Linked DNA regions of Homo sapiens: all the other regions are linked to region 1. The links are contacts of gene promoters, found by promoter capture Hi-C in human tissues and cell types (Jung and others, 2019). All regions are on one chromosome and are shown on one strand. Each heading gives the region's core, a stretch centred on a gene start or on the middle of the fragment in contact. The rest is flanking DNA. Distances are from core to core; before and after follow the strand shown. Region 1 holds the start of PTK7 (protein tyrosine kinase 7 (inactive)). Region 2 overlaps UBR2 (ubiquitin protein ligase E3 component n-recognin 2). Region 3 overlaps ZNF318 (zinc finger protein 318). Region 4 overlaps BICRAL (BICRA like chromatin remodeling complex associated protein). Region 5 overlaps ABCC10 (ATP binding cassette subfamily C member 10).

Region 1 (2,700 bases), core at 55-2,554:
TGGCCGCTCTTACTCCCTCCCTCTGCTGTCTCACTTCAGGTCCATGTATTTCACTTTTCTTAAATAAAAGAATCAGGTAACCTTTCTGTGACTTGAGTCCTGATTGAAGAGGGTATGAAGCAGGGCTTGTGTTGGGGCCCTTCACAGAAGGTGAGGGGCAGTGATGGATGGAGCAGCAGGAGGAGTGTTGATTCTTGGATCTCTCCTCTCTTCCTCCCGTTGTTTGTATCATCTCCAGCAGGGCCTGTAGGAAGGCATCTGGGGGATGGGGAAGAAGGAGGCTCACAACCCAAGGAGAAGGTGCTGTGGACTGGGTTGTCAGGGACATGTGGTGGCCATGTGGCAGGACCCTGGAGTCCTGGCGCCACTTCTCCTGGCTGTGAGGCCCTCTGTGGCTGCCATTCCTCCTCCCAGCTGCTTGGGGGAAGGGAGGTCTAAACAGGCCTGGGGGGCCCTCCGGAACCAGAGGGGAGACAAGGCACTATCCATCCCCTCTCAGCATATCTTGGAGGCCTGAGCAGCAGCTGGGGCCCATCTTCTAAAGCTTGACTCCTCCTGACCCGCCTCCTACACCCCTTGCTGCTTTCACAACAAAGAAAGAATGTGGGGGTGGTGGCGCTGGGGGTGGGGGTGCCTGGAACAAGGGTTGTGCTGGGCCTCCCCACAGCTGGAGACTTGGCCATACCCTGACACAGCCCAGACTGCCTGGAGATGGACTTGGGATGAATTTGTCAGTTAGCAGACTTCAGCCTGGCTTTCAGAGCCCAGCGTGTTTCTACCTTTGGGTTCAGATTGGTCTACAGCCAAACCAGACCCCAGTCATGCACACTTCAGCCCCTCTCCGGGCTACACAGCATCTTCAGGTTACTTGGGGACATTAAGGACACCCTGCTGTTCTGGGTCTGCCGTTAAGATTTTGGGTTGCTGAAGAGTTGGCGGGGCCCGCCTCTTCCCCTGCCCCCACCTGGAGAATTCTGGGGGAACTGTTGGCCAGAGCCTCCAGGTATGCCCAGAATGGACCATTCTCCCCAGGGTCCACGGAATCGCACAAGTCACTTAGGTTCTCCCGGATCCCTGCAGAGTCGGTGGTGGGTACAGCAAATACTCAGGTCCCCTGCACTTCCCTGAGCCTTGCTCTCTCTATTCTCCATCCCTCTCCAGACCCCTCCCCCTACTGAGCTCCTCCCCGCCTCGGCGAGGAGGGGGCGTCGAGGGGGCGGGGCGCCGTGCGGGGGCCGGAGGGGAGGGGGCGTCGTGGGGCGGGGCTTGGCGGCGGCGGCGGCGGCGCGCGGGGACTCGGAGGTACTGGGCGCGCGCGGCTCCGGCTCGGGACGCCTCGGGACGCCTCGGGGTCGGGCTCCGGCTGCGGCTGCTGCTGCGGCGCCCGCGCTCCGGTGCGCTCCGCCTCCTGTGCCCGCCGCGGAGCGCAGTCTGCGCGCCCGCCGTGCGCCCTCAGCTCCTTTTCCTGAGCCCGCCGCGATGGGAGCTGCGCGGGGATCCCCGGCCAGACCCCGCCGGTTGCCTCTGCTCAGCGTCCTGCTGCTGCCGCTGCTGGGCGGTGAGTACCCGAGAGTTGGGGGCACAGAGCTTGGGAAGCGCGGGAGTCCCGTGGGCAAAAGGCTGCGCCCGGGGCGGTGGGTTTGGGCGGCTGGAACGGCCCTGGAGTAGTGGAGAGGCTCGCTGGGGGTGCAGGCTTGCGGCGGAAGGGCGCAAGGAGCCCGGGTGTCGGGAGGCTGGCGAAGCCTCCAGGGACGCGGTCAGGGTACCCCTCCCACTCGCGCCGCGGGGACGCATTTCCAGCCTCCCTGAGTTTTTCTGGTCTGAGCCGAGAGTTTGCTCGAGAACTGCCGAGAGTTGCTGGCTCTCGGGCCCAGATGGGGAGTTTCTTGTCGGGGGAGAAAAGACCATCCGCACCCACCGTGGGGAGCGCGATGGAGAAAAAGGAATTCCCCACCCCACCCGGCAGGGTCGGCCCAGGTAAGAGTTGCTGGTTTGGGGCCCGATGCCGGACAGACCTGCGGCGCGCAAAGCGCGGAGCTTTGTTACCTACGCCGACCCGACGTTCCCGGCTTCCCTCCTCCGAGTTCCTGGGCAAAGCTGAGACCCCAGATGGCCCTGCGGGTGAGGGCGGAAGAAGGGAAGAGTTAGGGGCCGCCCCCATCCATGGCCTCTAGCTACTGGTCTGGAACCCTGCGCCCACTCCGTGCCAGGGCCGAATCCGGGGATCCGAGGGTCCCAGGCTGTCGCGGTGACTAATGTGTGAAGGCCGCTGCCAAAATCGGGCATGGCCTGGCTGCAAAGGTGCGGACGGGGTTTGTTCTGCTCCTTCCTGGATTTCCATCCTGACTGTCCTCACAGAGGAAAGGAAGTATTTCTAAGGGAAGAAAGGCAAAAAGAGCTCATTCTGGCTTTTCTTGGGGGGGGGCCTTAGCATTTTAACGAGGGTGTGGCCCTCATCACCAGGGCAGACAGCACCGCCCCCCCAACTCCCGCAGCTTTTATTTCCTGGCTTGGTCACACCTAAGAGTCATCACTGAGGTGTTGAAGTGCCTTACAGGAAAGCACCAAGCCACCCGCACATCCCAAATAGCCCGGACTGGAAATAAAGCCCCCGACCCTCCACAACACTCCTTGGTGGTCCTCGAAGCAGCTTTCTCTTGGGGAGCTCTGTCGAGGAGACCTGTCCTAGGTGATCACCTT
Region 2 (2,700 bases), core at 61-2,560, 440 kb before region 1:
CTCAAGTGATCCGCCCACCTCGGCCTCCCAATGTGCTGGGATTACAGGCATGAGCCACTGCGCCAGCCACTTTTATATTTCTTTGGTTTCCACTAATGTTCTTTCTTTAGAGGTTACAAGTTTATTTTTTTAATATGCTTTCTTGGAAGTATAGTCAAGTTATTTGAGAAACTGTAGTGGTTTTTGATTTTGCTTTTTAATGTTTCCATGTTTCTTTTTCTCTCCTTCATGTGGTATTTATATAATACAGTGTAGACCTTTTTCCCCTGTTTAATTCTCTTTTTAGGAAACATCCCTATATACAAAACAGAATCTAGAAGTAGAAACGAACAGGTATATTTAACCAGTTATAACTGTAAGAAGATAGGTGACGTCTCTAAAAATCTGAGCAAGTACTATTATGATTTCTTTAGTAGCCACCTGGCTTTCTTAAGAAAAGGAATGACCAAAGTTGACTTACCATTTTTATTTTTATTTGTTTGAATTTATTTTTATTTATTTATTTATTTTGGAGGTGGAGGTTTGCTCTATCGCCCAGGCGGGAGTGCAGTGGCGCGATCTTGGCTCACTGCAACCTCTGCCTCCCAGGTTCAAGCAATTCTTCTGCCTCAGCCTCCCGAGTAGCTGGGATTACAGGTGCACGCCACCACACCTAGCTCATTTTTGTATTGTTAGTAGAGACAGGGTTTCGCCATGTTGGCCAGGCTGGTCTTGAATTCCTGACCTCAAGTGATCCACCCGCCTCGGCCTCCCAAAGTGCTGGGATTACAGGCGTGGGCCACCATGTCTGGCCTGACTTACCATTCTAGTTCCTAGGTTGGGTGGTAGTTCATGGGTGTTTATTATAATACTACTATGTTTTTCATGTATCTGTGAAAACAATAGCTACTTTGGTCATTTTTGATACTTGAAGTATTCTGTATTCTCTATTGTTTAATAAGTTCTGACATACTAGAATAGTTAGGCTAGTTTCTGAACAGTAATTTTAATTAAAAGCTATTTATTGTTTTGCCTTCTTTCAGGCTCTGTGAAAACTTCTAATTGCATATTAGGACATAATATTAAAACTTTATTATAAAATACAGTTATAAATTCAATAACATTTTAAAAGCTTGTCACATTTCTTTTAACAATTTTTTCTATAGACCATAGAGCTAAAAAGGAAGGATTATTGCAGTGAAATATTGAAGTATTTTATTGCCTAAAACAGATCTTAGATGATACCTCTGAAATAATGTGTTTATTGGGATTTCTAAATTTATATTTTAGAGAATGTTATATAAACACATAATTTTAAAAGCTATTATTTCTCATAGTACTTGAAGTTTCCTGTTAAAACTTATACCTTCTATGTTTTTATAATCAATATATATTTCTCCTACATTACTTCTTAGGTTTCCATATAAAAGAACAACTATTATTTTCATTCATATATAATTTTTTCACTTCCGTTAAGGGAATGGATCCAATTACACGTCAAGTAGGACAACATATTGAAATGGAACCAGAGTGGGAAGCAGCCTTCACACTACAAATGAAATTAACACATGTCATTTCAATGATGCAGGACTGGTGTGCTTCAGATGTGAGTTTCTTCTGGGTGCGGGGAATAGGAGGAAAGTGGAAGAGGGAGGAATAAGCAGAATCCTAAGTAAATTTCAAGGAGATCTGGAGAAAATAGTGGTGATACTTAGTTCATTAAACAGCGTATTTTCCTTCTCCACCTATAAACTCAGTAAAATTTTAAAATTCTACAGCCTGAGGAAAAACTTGAAAAATAGAGAAAGAAATAATCCAGATTGTCTCTTCCCTAATGTAACTATCTTTGTTTTTTTTCCATAATCCCTTCTAGACTTTGAGGATATAAAAATGGTAGTTTCTAAATTTATTCAAAAATAAAGTTTTATTATTGGTACATTTGTCCTGTGTCTTAAAATTATTTTGGCCTTCCTTTGGCGATAAAGTCTAGATGAGAGCCTGTATACATTATGAGGTTAGGGAGGTTTCTGTAAGGTCTGAACAATCTGTAAAAGTTAATGGAACAATGAGTAAATGATATTCCTGACTGAGAAGACAGCTGCATTATAGTCTGTGATGACAGGGACTAGGGTAGTCCTAGGAGCTATAGAAAGGTCTGTGGTTGGAGCACAGAAGTAGAGAACAGAGATTTGGGCACAGGAGTGATTTTTCGGGGCCTTGGCCATGGTTGTTTTTTTTTTTGTTTTTTTTTTTTTTGAGACACAGCTTACTCTGTTGCCCAGGCCAGAGTGCAGTGGTGCAATCCCGGCTCACTGCAGCCTCAACCTCCCTGGGCTTAGGTGATCCTCCCACCTCAGCCTCCCAAGTAGCTGGGACAACAGGCACACACCACCACACCTGGCTAATTTTTCTATTTTTTGTAGAGACAGGGCTTCGCCGTGTTACCCAGGCTGGTCTTGAATTCCTGGGCTCAAGCGATCTGCTTGCCTCGGCCTCCCAAAGTCTTGGAATTACCAGCGTGAGCCACCACACTCAGCCTGCATTTTATTTGAATTGAAGTGGGAAGCCTTTAGAGATTACCATCTCTCTATTAAATTCCCTGCTTCAACTCTTGCCCCCTTTATCCATTTTCCATACAGTGACATGATTCAATTTACATGTTTTTTAAAATTGCTCTGTATGGAGAATGGATGAAGGGGGCAAGAGTCAAAGCAGGAATTT
Region 3 (2,700 bases), core at 149-2,648, 280 kb after region 1:
CCCGCCTCAGCCTCCCAAACTGCTGGGATTACAGGCGTGAGCCTCCACACGTGGCTCAGATAAATGGTTTTAAAGCTGTGTTCCAGAGGTTGTAAAGAGTGCTCAGGAGCTACCAAAAGAAAGGAGGTACTAGAAAAGCAGAACCAGCAGGGCTCTTGACCTTCTATCCCAGTTAAATCACACTAATTCCAACTTTAAGTCTGTATATTAAGGTTCTAATAATTCAATTGGGAAAAAAAAGTATCACTATATGGTAACTTTTAAAAAAACTACTGATTTATCTAATTAGCATGATTTTCTCATAAGATTTAGAAGGTTCTCCAATGCTTTGCCTTGATGGTTCACATATTAAAACCCATAAAGCTCTCTCACAGCCTGTTTTGTCACCCTCTTTGCCTTCTCTGGATATCTACAAGCACTCTGCTAATCTTGGGCTTAGAAAAGAGAAAGTGATGGTTTGGTTCACCATATATTTTTATTTCATTAAATACAAAGGTCTCAGACCTTTGTGGCATGAGGTAAAAATCCAGGATGGGACAGCTATTCTTTTAGCTGAGAATTCTATACCACACCCAATAATGCTAACCTTCTCAGGGGCTATGGCTATGACACAAAACTAAAGTTTCTGATTTAAATCACAGATAGAAATAAAGATCCTCTAGCACTTTATGTATGAAAACTTCTAAGTACTCTGAATAAAAAATAAAAGTTCTTACATGTCACTCACATTCCAGAGTGAATTATCATCTAGAGGATGGTAACTATTAGTGTCTTCTACAGTTTCTAGTAGCTACTTTTGTTGTGAGTTTCTAGAAATGACTTTTCCTTAGTTTTTTTAGTAGTTGCTTTCCTATCTCTGAGACTATGCCAGCAGAATCTCAAAACATTGCCTTTTCTTATTCACCAGCCTGCCTTTGATCAAAGTTGTAGACCTAGGAATAAATTTATGAAAGGTTATCAAGGACAAACTTTATTTACCTTCTCTAACAAGAATGCCACCTGTGGGAATCCAGGTTTCTGTTACCCACCTTCTTCCTAAGAATTTGGGAAATTTTGAGGTTTCAATGCAGTATGAAATAGGAATAAATGGGAATAAACCAAGGATGATTTCTGAAATCAAACTGAGGTAAAAATTTTTCTCTATAGGTCTGTCAGCCATAAACACACCTATTTCCAGAGAGGAATGTTCATGAGTTGAGTCACTCCATTGCCAAAACACCATCTACCATACAAAAAGTCTCTGACCATATTAGTATAGGGAGAAAAAACATAGGCTCCATGAGGAGTGGCAAGTTCATTCACACTCCCACATTCAGCTCCCCACCAGAACTATTACATGTCACCATGAAACGGCATACTAGCCCAAGGTCTAAACCAGTACTAACTATCAAGAAGCTACAAATGAGATGGCTCTCAAAAAGCTGTAGTCCAGACTTGGAATCTCCAGTAGAGACAGAAAAAAGGCATAAAAACAGTTTTCTTAAAAAAGCTATCACATACATATAGGCAGAAATCAGGTTGCTTATTAGAAGCTCATGTCCTCCTTCCCCAGGACTCCAAAAGGATATGAGAAGAGAACTGGCTGTAGTAAGAACCCTAAAAAGGGTACAATCTCCTATACCCTGAAAGAGTCCAGCGATGGATACTCCCGGAAAGCCTTGGTTAAGTTCAACTGTTTTCTAAAATAAAGTCTATCTATTTAAAAAAACTGATTGTTGGAGTTAGGTAATAAGGACATGGGGTTTCACTGTACTATTCTACATTTTTGTGTTTACAAATCTCTGTTAAACAAGTTTTTAAAAAATGTATGTATGTCCATATAAAAACTTTTATACCAATGTTCAGAGCAGCATTAATCATAATTGCCAAAAAGTGAAAAGAATCAAAATGTTATCCATTCATTCACCACTGATGAATGGATAAACAAAACATGGTATATCCATACAATAAAATATTATCAGCAATAAAAAGGAATGCTACAAACACGGATGAACCTTAAAAAAAAATATGCTAAGTGAAAGAAGCCAGTCACAAAAGACCACATATTATATGATTCTATTTATATGAAATGTCCAGAACGGGCAAATCTATAGAGACAGAAAGTAGATTAGTGATTGCCTATGGCTGGGGGTAGGGTGGAGGGAGTAATGGCTAAAGGAACAGAGCTTCTTTCTGGTGTAATAAAAATGTTCTAAAATTGATTGTAGTGAGGGATGCACAACTCTGAATATGCGAAAAATCACTGAACTGTACACTTCAAATGGGTGAATTATATAGTATACAAATTACATCTCGATAAAGCTGTTAAAAATGTATACATATTTTAAAAGGTCCTTCAGAGCCTAAACTCTCCATTCTTTTCTGTTGATGAGTCCCAAAAATGCCCCAAGAAAGCTGTTTGCTTCTATTCCCTAAAGAAAATCAGAGGGAAAAAAATCCCACTCCTTCAATCTGTCAGAATAAGGAGAAGAAATTAGGCGATAAGCTGGGCACAATGGCTCACACCTGTAATCTTAGCACTTGGAGAGGCCAGGGCAGAAGGATTGCTTGGGGTCAGGAGACTAGCCTGGACAACACAGATAGATAGAAACCCAATTTCTAAAAATTTATTTTTTAATTCACCAGGTGTGGCAGTGCAGCCCATAGTCCTAGCTACTCTTTAGACTGAGCTGGGAGGACCACTTGAGCCCAGGAGTTTGA
Region 4 (2,700 bases), core at 3-2,502, 290 kb before region 1:
AGATGAAAAATTTCTAAAGCTGGATAGGGCTCTTGGTTTCACAGCAATGTGAATGTATGTAATGCCACTCAACCAAACACTTTTAAATATTTAAAATTCAGTAACTCTATAGAGAAATAAAGGGTTTTCCCAATCCTGGAAAAAAATGGTTAAAATTGTAAATCTTACATATATTTTACCATAGTAAAAAATGAATTAGGCTGGGCCCATGGCTCACACCTACAATCCCAGCACTTTGGGAGGCTGAGGCAGGCAAATCGTTTGAGGCCAGGAGTTCAAAACCAGCCTGGCCAACATGGCAAAACTCATCTCTACTAAAAATACAAAGAAAATAGCCAGGCATGGTGGCACACACCTGTAATCCCAGCTACTCAGGAGGCTGAGGCATGAGAATTGCTTGAACCTGGAAGGCAGACATTGGAGTGAGCTGAGATCTTCCCACTGCACTCCAGCCTGGGTGACATAGCTAGACTGTCTCAAAAAAAAAAAAAAAAAGAATGAACACTTAAATATTTGTGGCAGATAGAGGTGTTATTTGCATATGGAAGAAAATTGCTTTAGAAATGAAATTTCAGATTACTGAAACTAAAGAGAAAGTATCTCTTCTTATCATGGTACCAAGCTTGAGGGTGCATAAGTCACCTATAGACGTAGAGATTGTAGTATAGGACCTGGGAATATTACATTATTTGCTCCCATGTTTACTGTTTTGTTCTAAGCCTTTAGCACAGCATTCAAAACAAGTTGAGCACTCAGTAAACATTTGCTGACTCAGTACTTGGAGAACCTAGGTAGAGTAGAATGATGGGAATCAAAAGGAAAACAGTATTCTGTTAGAGATCAGCAATATCTTACACTAGTAGAGGGATCTGTGAGAAAAAGAATCAAGACCATTGAATGTGTGGCGGCTTATAGCATTTGACATTCTGATCTGTGCACGTGATGAGAAAAAAAGTCTGATTACAGAACAGGGAAGGAGAGAAATAAGCATTGAGTTTCATTTTTTGTTTGTTTTTGAGACAGGTTCTCACTGTTACCCAGCCTGGAGTGCAGTGGTACAATTGTAGCTCACTGCAGCCTGGACCTCCTGGGATCAAGGGATTCCCCCAACCTCAGCCTCCCAAGTAGCTGGGACTATAGAAATGCAACACCATGCCCAGATAATTTAATTTTTTTTTTTTTTTTTTTTTTTTTGTAGAGACAGGGGTTTCTCTTTGTCACCCAGGCTGGCCTCAAACTCCTGGGCTCAAGCAGTCTTCCCACCTTTCCCTCCCAAAGTGCTGGGATTACAGGCGTGAGCCACTGCATCCTGCCGAGAAAATCATTTTTTATTTAAATAATGTCAAATGGAAGTATGTAGCACCCCCCCCCCACCTTCTTTTCCCCTTTCTTTCCTCTTTGAGTCTGCTGTCATTCCCTTTTTCATGAGTTTTCTCTGCTCCCCAAATAGGCTAAACAATAACCGTAAAGTGAGATTAGAGAAAATAAGAATGGAGTAGATGATGGAATTCAAAATAGCTGTCTACATTCTTCACTGAGAAAGATAGCTTTGAGTTAAAGGTGAGAGGAGCAAATCTGGGGAAAAACGGGTGAAACGGCATGATTTAAGTAGCATACCAGATGCGTTTCTGCATGGCATGGCTCTTGCTTGATGAATAATGTTCTGTATAGTAGAAGAGGAAAATACAGTGAGTGAAGGAGCTGGCAGAAGGTGGGCTGGGGGAGTTGGGGAAGAGTGAAATGAGTATGGAGAGGTGAGAGAGCTGACTGCAAAGGCATGTGGGGTGTGGATTTTAAAAGGAAAGCCCTGAGGTGGAAATCACTAACATGGTGCCTGGCTACAAGCAGAGGGAGCTCAGGACTTGACTGTGCTGGGGGTGGCCTGCCCTTTTGTAGTGCAGTTGAGGAGAGCTCAGGGGCTGTCAGAATGCTGTGTGGGAAGGTGGAGGATGAAAGAGGACCTGGGAGCAGCAACTTTGTTCTGGTTTGTTGTTTTCTCTTCCCTACCTCGTATGTACTCCCACTCAGGAAAAGATCCTGAGACCTCTCTGTACCAGATCCTCTTATACCCAGGTTCTCCTTAATCCCAATCAACTTTAATCTATAAAGTTACGATTTGTTTACTTATAAATTTATTTTTAATAAAGTTGTGAAACCGAACATGTTCTGTTTTTGTGGGTTATTTGGCTCTCTTATCTTGCAAACACATTAAACACTTAACATTACTTAAAATTAAAGCCCTGAGTCTGAGAATGTGAGAGAATAAGATATGAAAGATATTGCCTTTCTAGAAATGGTTTATTTCAGTTGAACCCAAATCCAGGACACTTTTTTTCATTAGGAGTTGAACTTTGTGTCCTGGCCTGAAATGGAAACATTTTCACAGGGAAGAAAATGAGGGGGAAAAGAAATAATATTTGTTAAACCTTCACCTTGTTTGAGACCCTGATGGGTTCTAATGGGTTTGGTTTTTGTTTTTGTTTTTTGAGATGAGAACTCACTATGTTGCACAGGCGTGTCTCAAACTCCTGGGCTCAAGCGGTCTTCTCACCTCGGCCTCCCAAAGTGCTAGGACTATAGGTGTGAACCACTGCACCTGGCCTCTGATGGGTTTTTAGTAAATACAGTCATGTGTCATTTAATCACAGGGATAGGTTCTGATGAATGCATCGTTAGGTGATTTCATTGTGTACAAACACC
Region 5 (2,700 bases), core at 1-2,500, 370 kb after region 1:
AAAAAAAACAAAAATTAGCTGGGTGTCATGGCTCACACCTGTAGTCCTAGCTACTCTGGAGGCTGAGGCAGGAGAATTGCATGAACCCGAGAGGCGGAGGTTGCAGTGAGCTGAGATCATGCCACTGCACTCCAGCCTGGGCGACAGAGCAAGACTCTGTCTCACACACACAAAAAAGTAAAAACCTATAAAAGCTTTTACATCAAATCTGCCCAAGATACCTTACTACCTTGCCTGTTAAAAAGACAGGGTAATAGGCCAGGCACGGTGGCTCACGCCTATAATCCCAGCACTTTGGGAGGCCAAGGTGGGTGGATCACAAGGTCAGGAGATCGAGACCATCCTGGCTAACATGGTGAAACCCCGTCTCTACTAAAAATGCAAAAATTAGCTGGGCATGGTGGCACACGCCTGTAGTCCCAGCTACTCGAGAGGCTGAGGCAGGAAAATCGCTTGAACCCAGGAGGTGGAGGTTTCAGTGAGCTGAGATTGTGCCACTGCACTCCAGCCTGGCGACAGAGCGAGACTCCGTCTCAAAAAAAAAAAAGGGTAGTAAATGTAACAAAGTAGTTAAGAATCTGAATCTGAACTTGTGTCCTGCCCCTTACTAGCTGTGGGCCAGCTAGTTAATCTGTCTGAGCTTTGGTTGCACCTGAGAAAAGGAAATGATACCATCTTCATAAGATTACATTGGGGCTTGAATGAGAGAATGCCTGTAAAGTGCTAGGCACATAGTGTTCAATAAGTGCTTGATGTTATTGGAATTATGTCTTGTCTCCTCTGACTAGCTCACCCCAAATTTAAGTCTACTCTCCTCAAGCTCCCTACTTCTCTTGACTCCCACTATCTCCTGCAAAGGGATAGGAAGTGGGCCAGAAGGTAATGGGAGCTCCCTGACCCACTGGGGCACCTGTTCCATCAGATCCTGCCTGCTGGAGACCAGACAGAGGTGGGGGAGAAGGGTGTCACCCTTAGCGGAGGACAGCGTGCCCGGATTGCCCTTGCTCGTGCTGTCTACCAGGTCAGTTAAAGATGGAGGTTGCAGTGGCAGGGAGGTGGGGGGAGTCCAGAGCCTTGGGAACTTGGCTGAGTTAGGAGGATAGGAATATTTTCCTTAGCATCTGGTTCCTTCCCTCCTCCCTTGCATGTTCCTGAGGTATTGGCCATCTCATCCCCTTTTGCAGATTTAAGGCAGAGTTCAAGGCCTTTAAAAAGTATTTGTAGGCTGGGCATGGTGGCTTAGGTCTGTAATCCCAGCACTTTGGGAGGCCAAGGCAGGAGGATTGCTTGGGCCCAGGAGTTTAAGATCAGCCTGGGCAATGTGGCAAAACCCTGTCTCTACAAAAAATAATTTTAAAAAGTTAGTTGGTGTAATCCTAGCACTTTGAGAGGCCGAGGAGGGTGGATCACTTGAGGTCAGGAGTTCGAGACCAGCTGGGCCAACATGGTGAAACCCCATCGCTACTGAAAAACATACAAAAATTAGCTGGGCATAGTGGCACATGCCTGTAATTCCAGCTACTCGGGAGGCTGAGGCAGGAGAATCGCTTGAACCCGAGAGGCAGAGGTTGCAGTGAGCCAAGATCACACCATTGCACTCCAGCCTGGGTGATGAGAATGAAACCCTGTCTCCAAAAAAATTTAGCTGGGCTTGATAGCATGCACCTGTAGTCCCAGCTACTCAGGAGGCTGAGGTGGGAAGGATCACTTGAGCCTGGGAAATTGAGGCTGCAGTGAGTGGTGTTCATGCCACTGCACTCCAGCCTGGGCAACAGAGCAAGACCATGTCTCAAAAAAAAAAAAAAGTGTTATATGGGCTGAGGGCCTGGGACCTAGGAAAGCTGAGTGCTGGCCCTGGGGTGCTGTTCTTTCTTGCCTGAAGGGATGTCCACCCTCAGGTCTCACCTCCTTCTCTGCTAGTGTAGGGGTAGCCCCCAGAGTTTCTCTCAACTGTCTTCTCTGATCACTTTGAGATCTTCTCCGGAGAGCCTTTGGGTCCTGGTGCCCACGGTACCCTCACGTCTCCATAGGAAAAGGAGCTCTATCTCCTCGATGACCCTCTGGCCGCTGTGGATGCAGATGTGGCCAACCACCTGCTGCACAGGTGCATCCTGGGCATGCTGAGCTACACCACACGGCTGCTCTGCACCCACCGCACTGAGTACCTGGAGAGGGCTGACGCGGTGCTGCTGATGGAGGCCGGGCGCCTCATCCGGGCTGGTAATGGGGGCAGGAGCCCCGTGTGAGGGAGGTGTCTGCCCAGGTCTGGCAGGGGATTGTGAAGTACAGACTCTGCCCCCTGCTGCATGTGTGCCCTGAGCCAGTCATTGCTGCCTCCCGCCTTCACAGAACTGGTGTGAGGAACTGGGAGAACAGGAGGGAAAAGGAGTACGTTGGTAAAATGCCAGTGTATTTGGGACTCATGGGCTTTGTGACTGGGTGCTCTTGGGAACTTAAAGGCCCAGGGTCTCTGAGAACATTCTCATATCTTCAGAGAAGAGAAAGGAGTCAGGTTTAGAATGGTCTTTTTGTAAAAACAAAAATTTTTAAACTCTGAAAGATTTTTATGCAGAGGGATGTGACCACCTGCAAGTTTACTGGGAGAGAAATAGGAGGAAATGAAGCTCCAGCCAGATATTAGGAATTGAGCGAAGCATGAGAAAAAGCTCTGCAGTAATGAGAAGTAACCCTGGACAGAGT

The links. The method cuts DNA at HindIII sites, captures the fragments that hold promoters and counts their contacts. A contact is called where the count stands out against the background at its distance.
Region 2: a fragment that was not itself captured here is called in contact with the fragment with the promoter of PTK7 in region 1 in 2 of the 25 tissues and cell types used here (adrenal gland and aorta).
Region 3: a contact is called between a fragment that was not itself captured here and the fragment with the promoter of PTK7 in region 1, in 1 of the 25 tissues and cell types used here (H1 embryonic stem cells).
Region 4: a contact is called between a fragment that was not itself captured here and the fragment with the promoter of PTK7 in region 1, in 1 of the 25 tissues and cell types used here (aorta).
Region 5: a contact is called between a fragment that was not itself captured here and the fragment with the promoter of PTK7 in region 1, in 2 of the 25 tissues and cell types used here (bladder and dorsolateral prefrontal cortex).

Annotation. Positions count from the first base shown.
Region 1 is chr6:43,075,010-43,077,709 of GRCh38, forward strand. It overlaps PTK7 (protein tyrosine kinase 7 (inactive)), which reads left to right and starts at 1,305. Exons shown (of 20, transcript NM_002821.5): 1 at 1,305-1,558. The coding sequence starts at 1,480. It overlaps KLC4 (kinesin light chain 4), which reads left to right. Exons shown (of 16, transcript NM_201521.3): 16 at 1-84. KLC4-AS1 (KLC4 antisense RNA 1) reads right to left here and starts at 1,221. Exons shown (of 2, transcript XR_002956347.1): 1 at 686-1,221; 2 at 1-258. RefSeq lists an enhancer at 440-963 and a silencer at 1,293-1,392. The HindIII fragment of the contact is 20,814 bases long and covers 1-2,700 here.
Region 2 is chr6:42,633,962-42,636,661 of GRCh38, forward strand. It overlaps UBR2 (ubiquitin protein ligase E3 component n-recognin 2), which reads left to right. Exons shown (of 47, transcript NM_001363705.2): 14 at 1,457-1,585. Among named protein-coding and RNA genes, the nearest start is that of UBR2, 71 kb to the left of the region's middle. The HindIII fragment of the contact is 3,846 bases long and covers 1-2,700 here.
Region 3 is chr6:43,358,800-43,361,499 of GRCh38, forward strand. All of the region lies in intron 2 of ZNF318 (zinc finger protein 318), which reads right to left. Among named protein-coding and RNA genes, the nearest start is that of ZNF318, 9.5 kb to the right of the region's middle. The HindIII fragment of the contact is 8,687 bases long and covers 1-2,700 here.
Region 4 is chr6:42,789,162-42,791,861 of GRCh38, forward strand. The region is part of intron 1 of BICRAL (BICRA like chromatin remodeling complex associated protein); the gene reads left to right. It overlaps LOC401261 (a long non-coding RNA gene), which reads left to right. Exons shown (of 2, transcript NR_134654.1): 2 at 1,255-2,162. Among named protein-coding and RNA genes, the nearest start is that of BICRAL, 8.5 kb to the left of the region's middle. The HindIII fragment of the contact is 3,471 bases long and covers 1-2,700 here.
Region 5 is chr6:43,440,940-43,443,639 of GRCh38, forward strand. ABCC10 (ATP binding cassette subfamily C member 10) reads left to right here. Exons shown (of 22, transcript NM_001198934.2): 9 at 923-1,021; 10 at 2,031-2,220. Among named protein-coding and RNA genes, the nearest start is that of MIR6780B, 7.7 kb to the left of the region's middle. The HindIII fragment of the contact is 4,033 bases long and covers 1-2,700 here.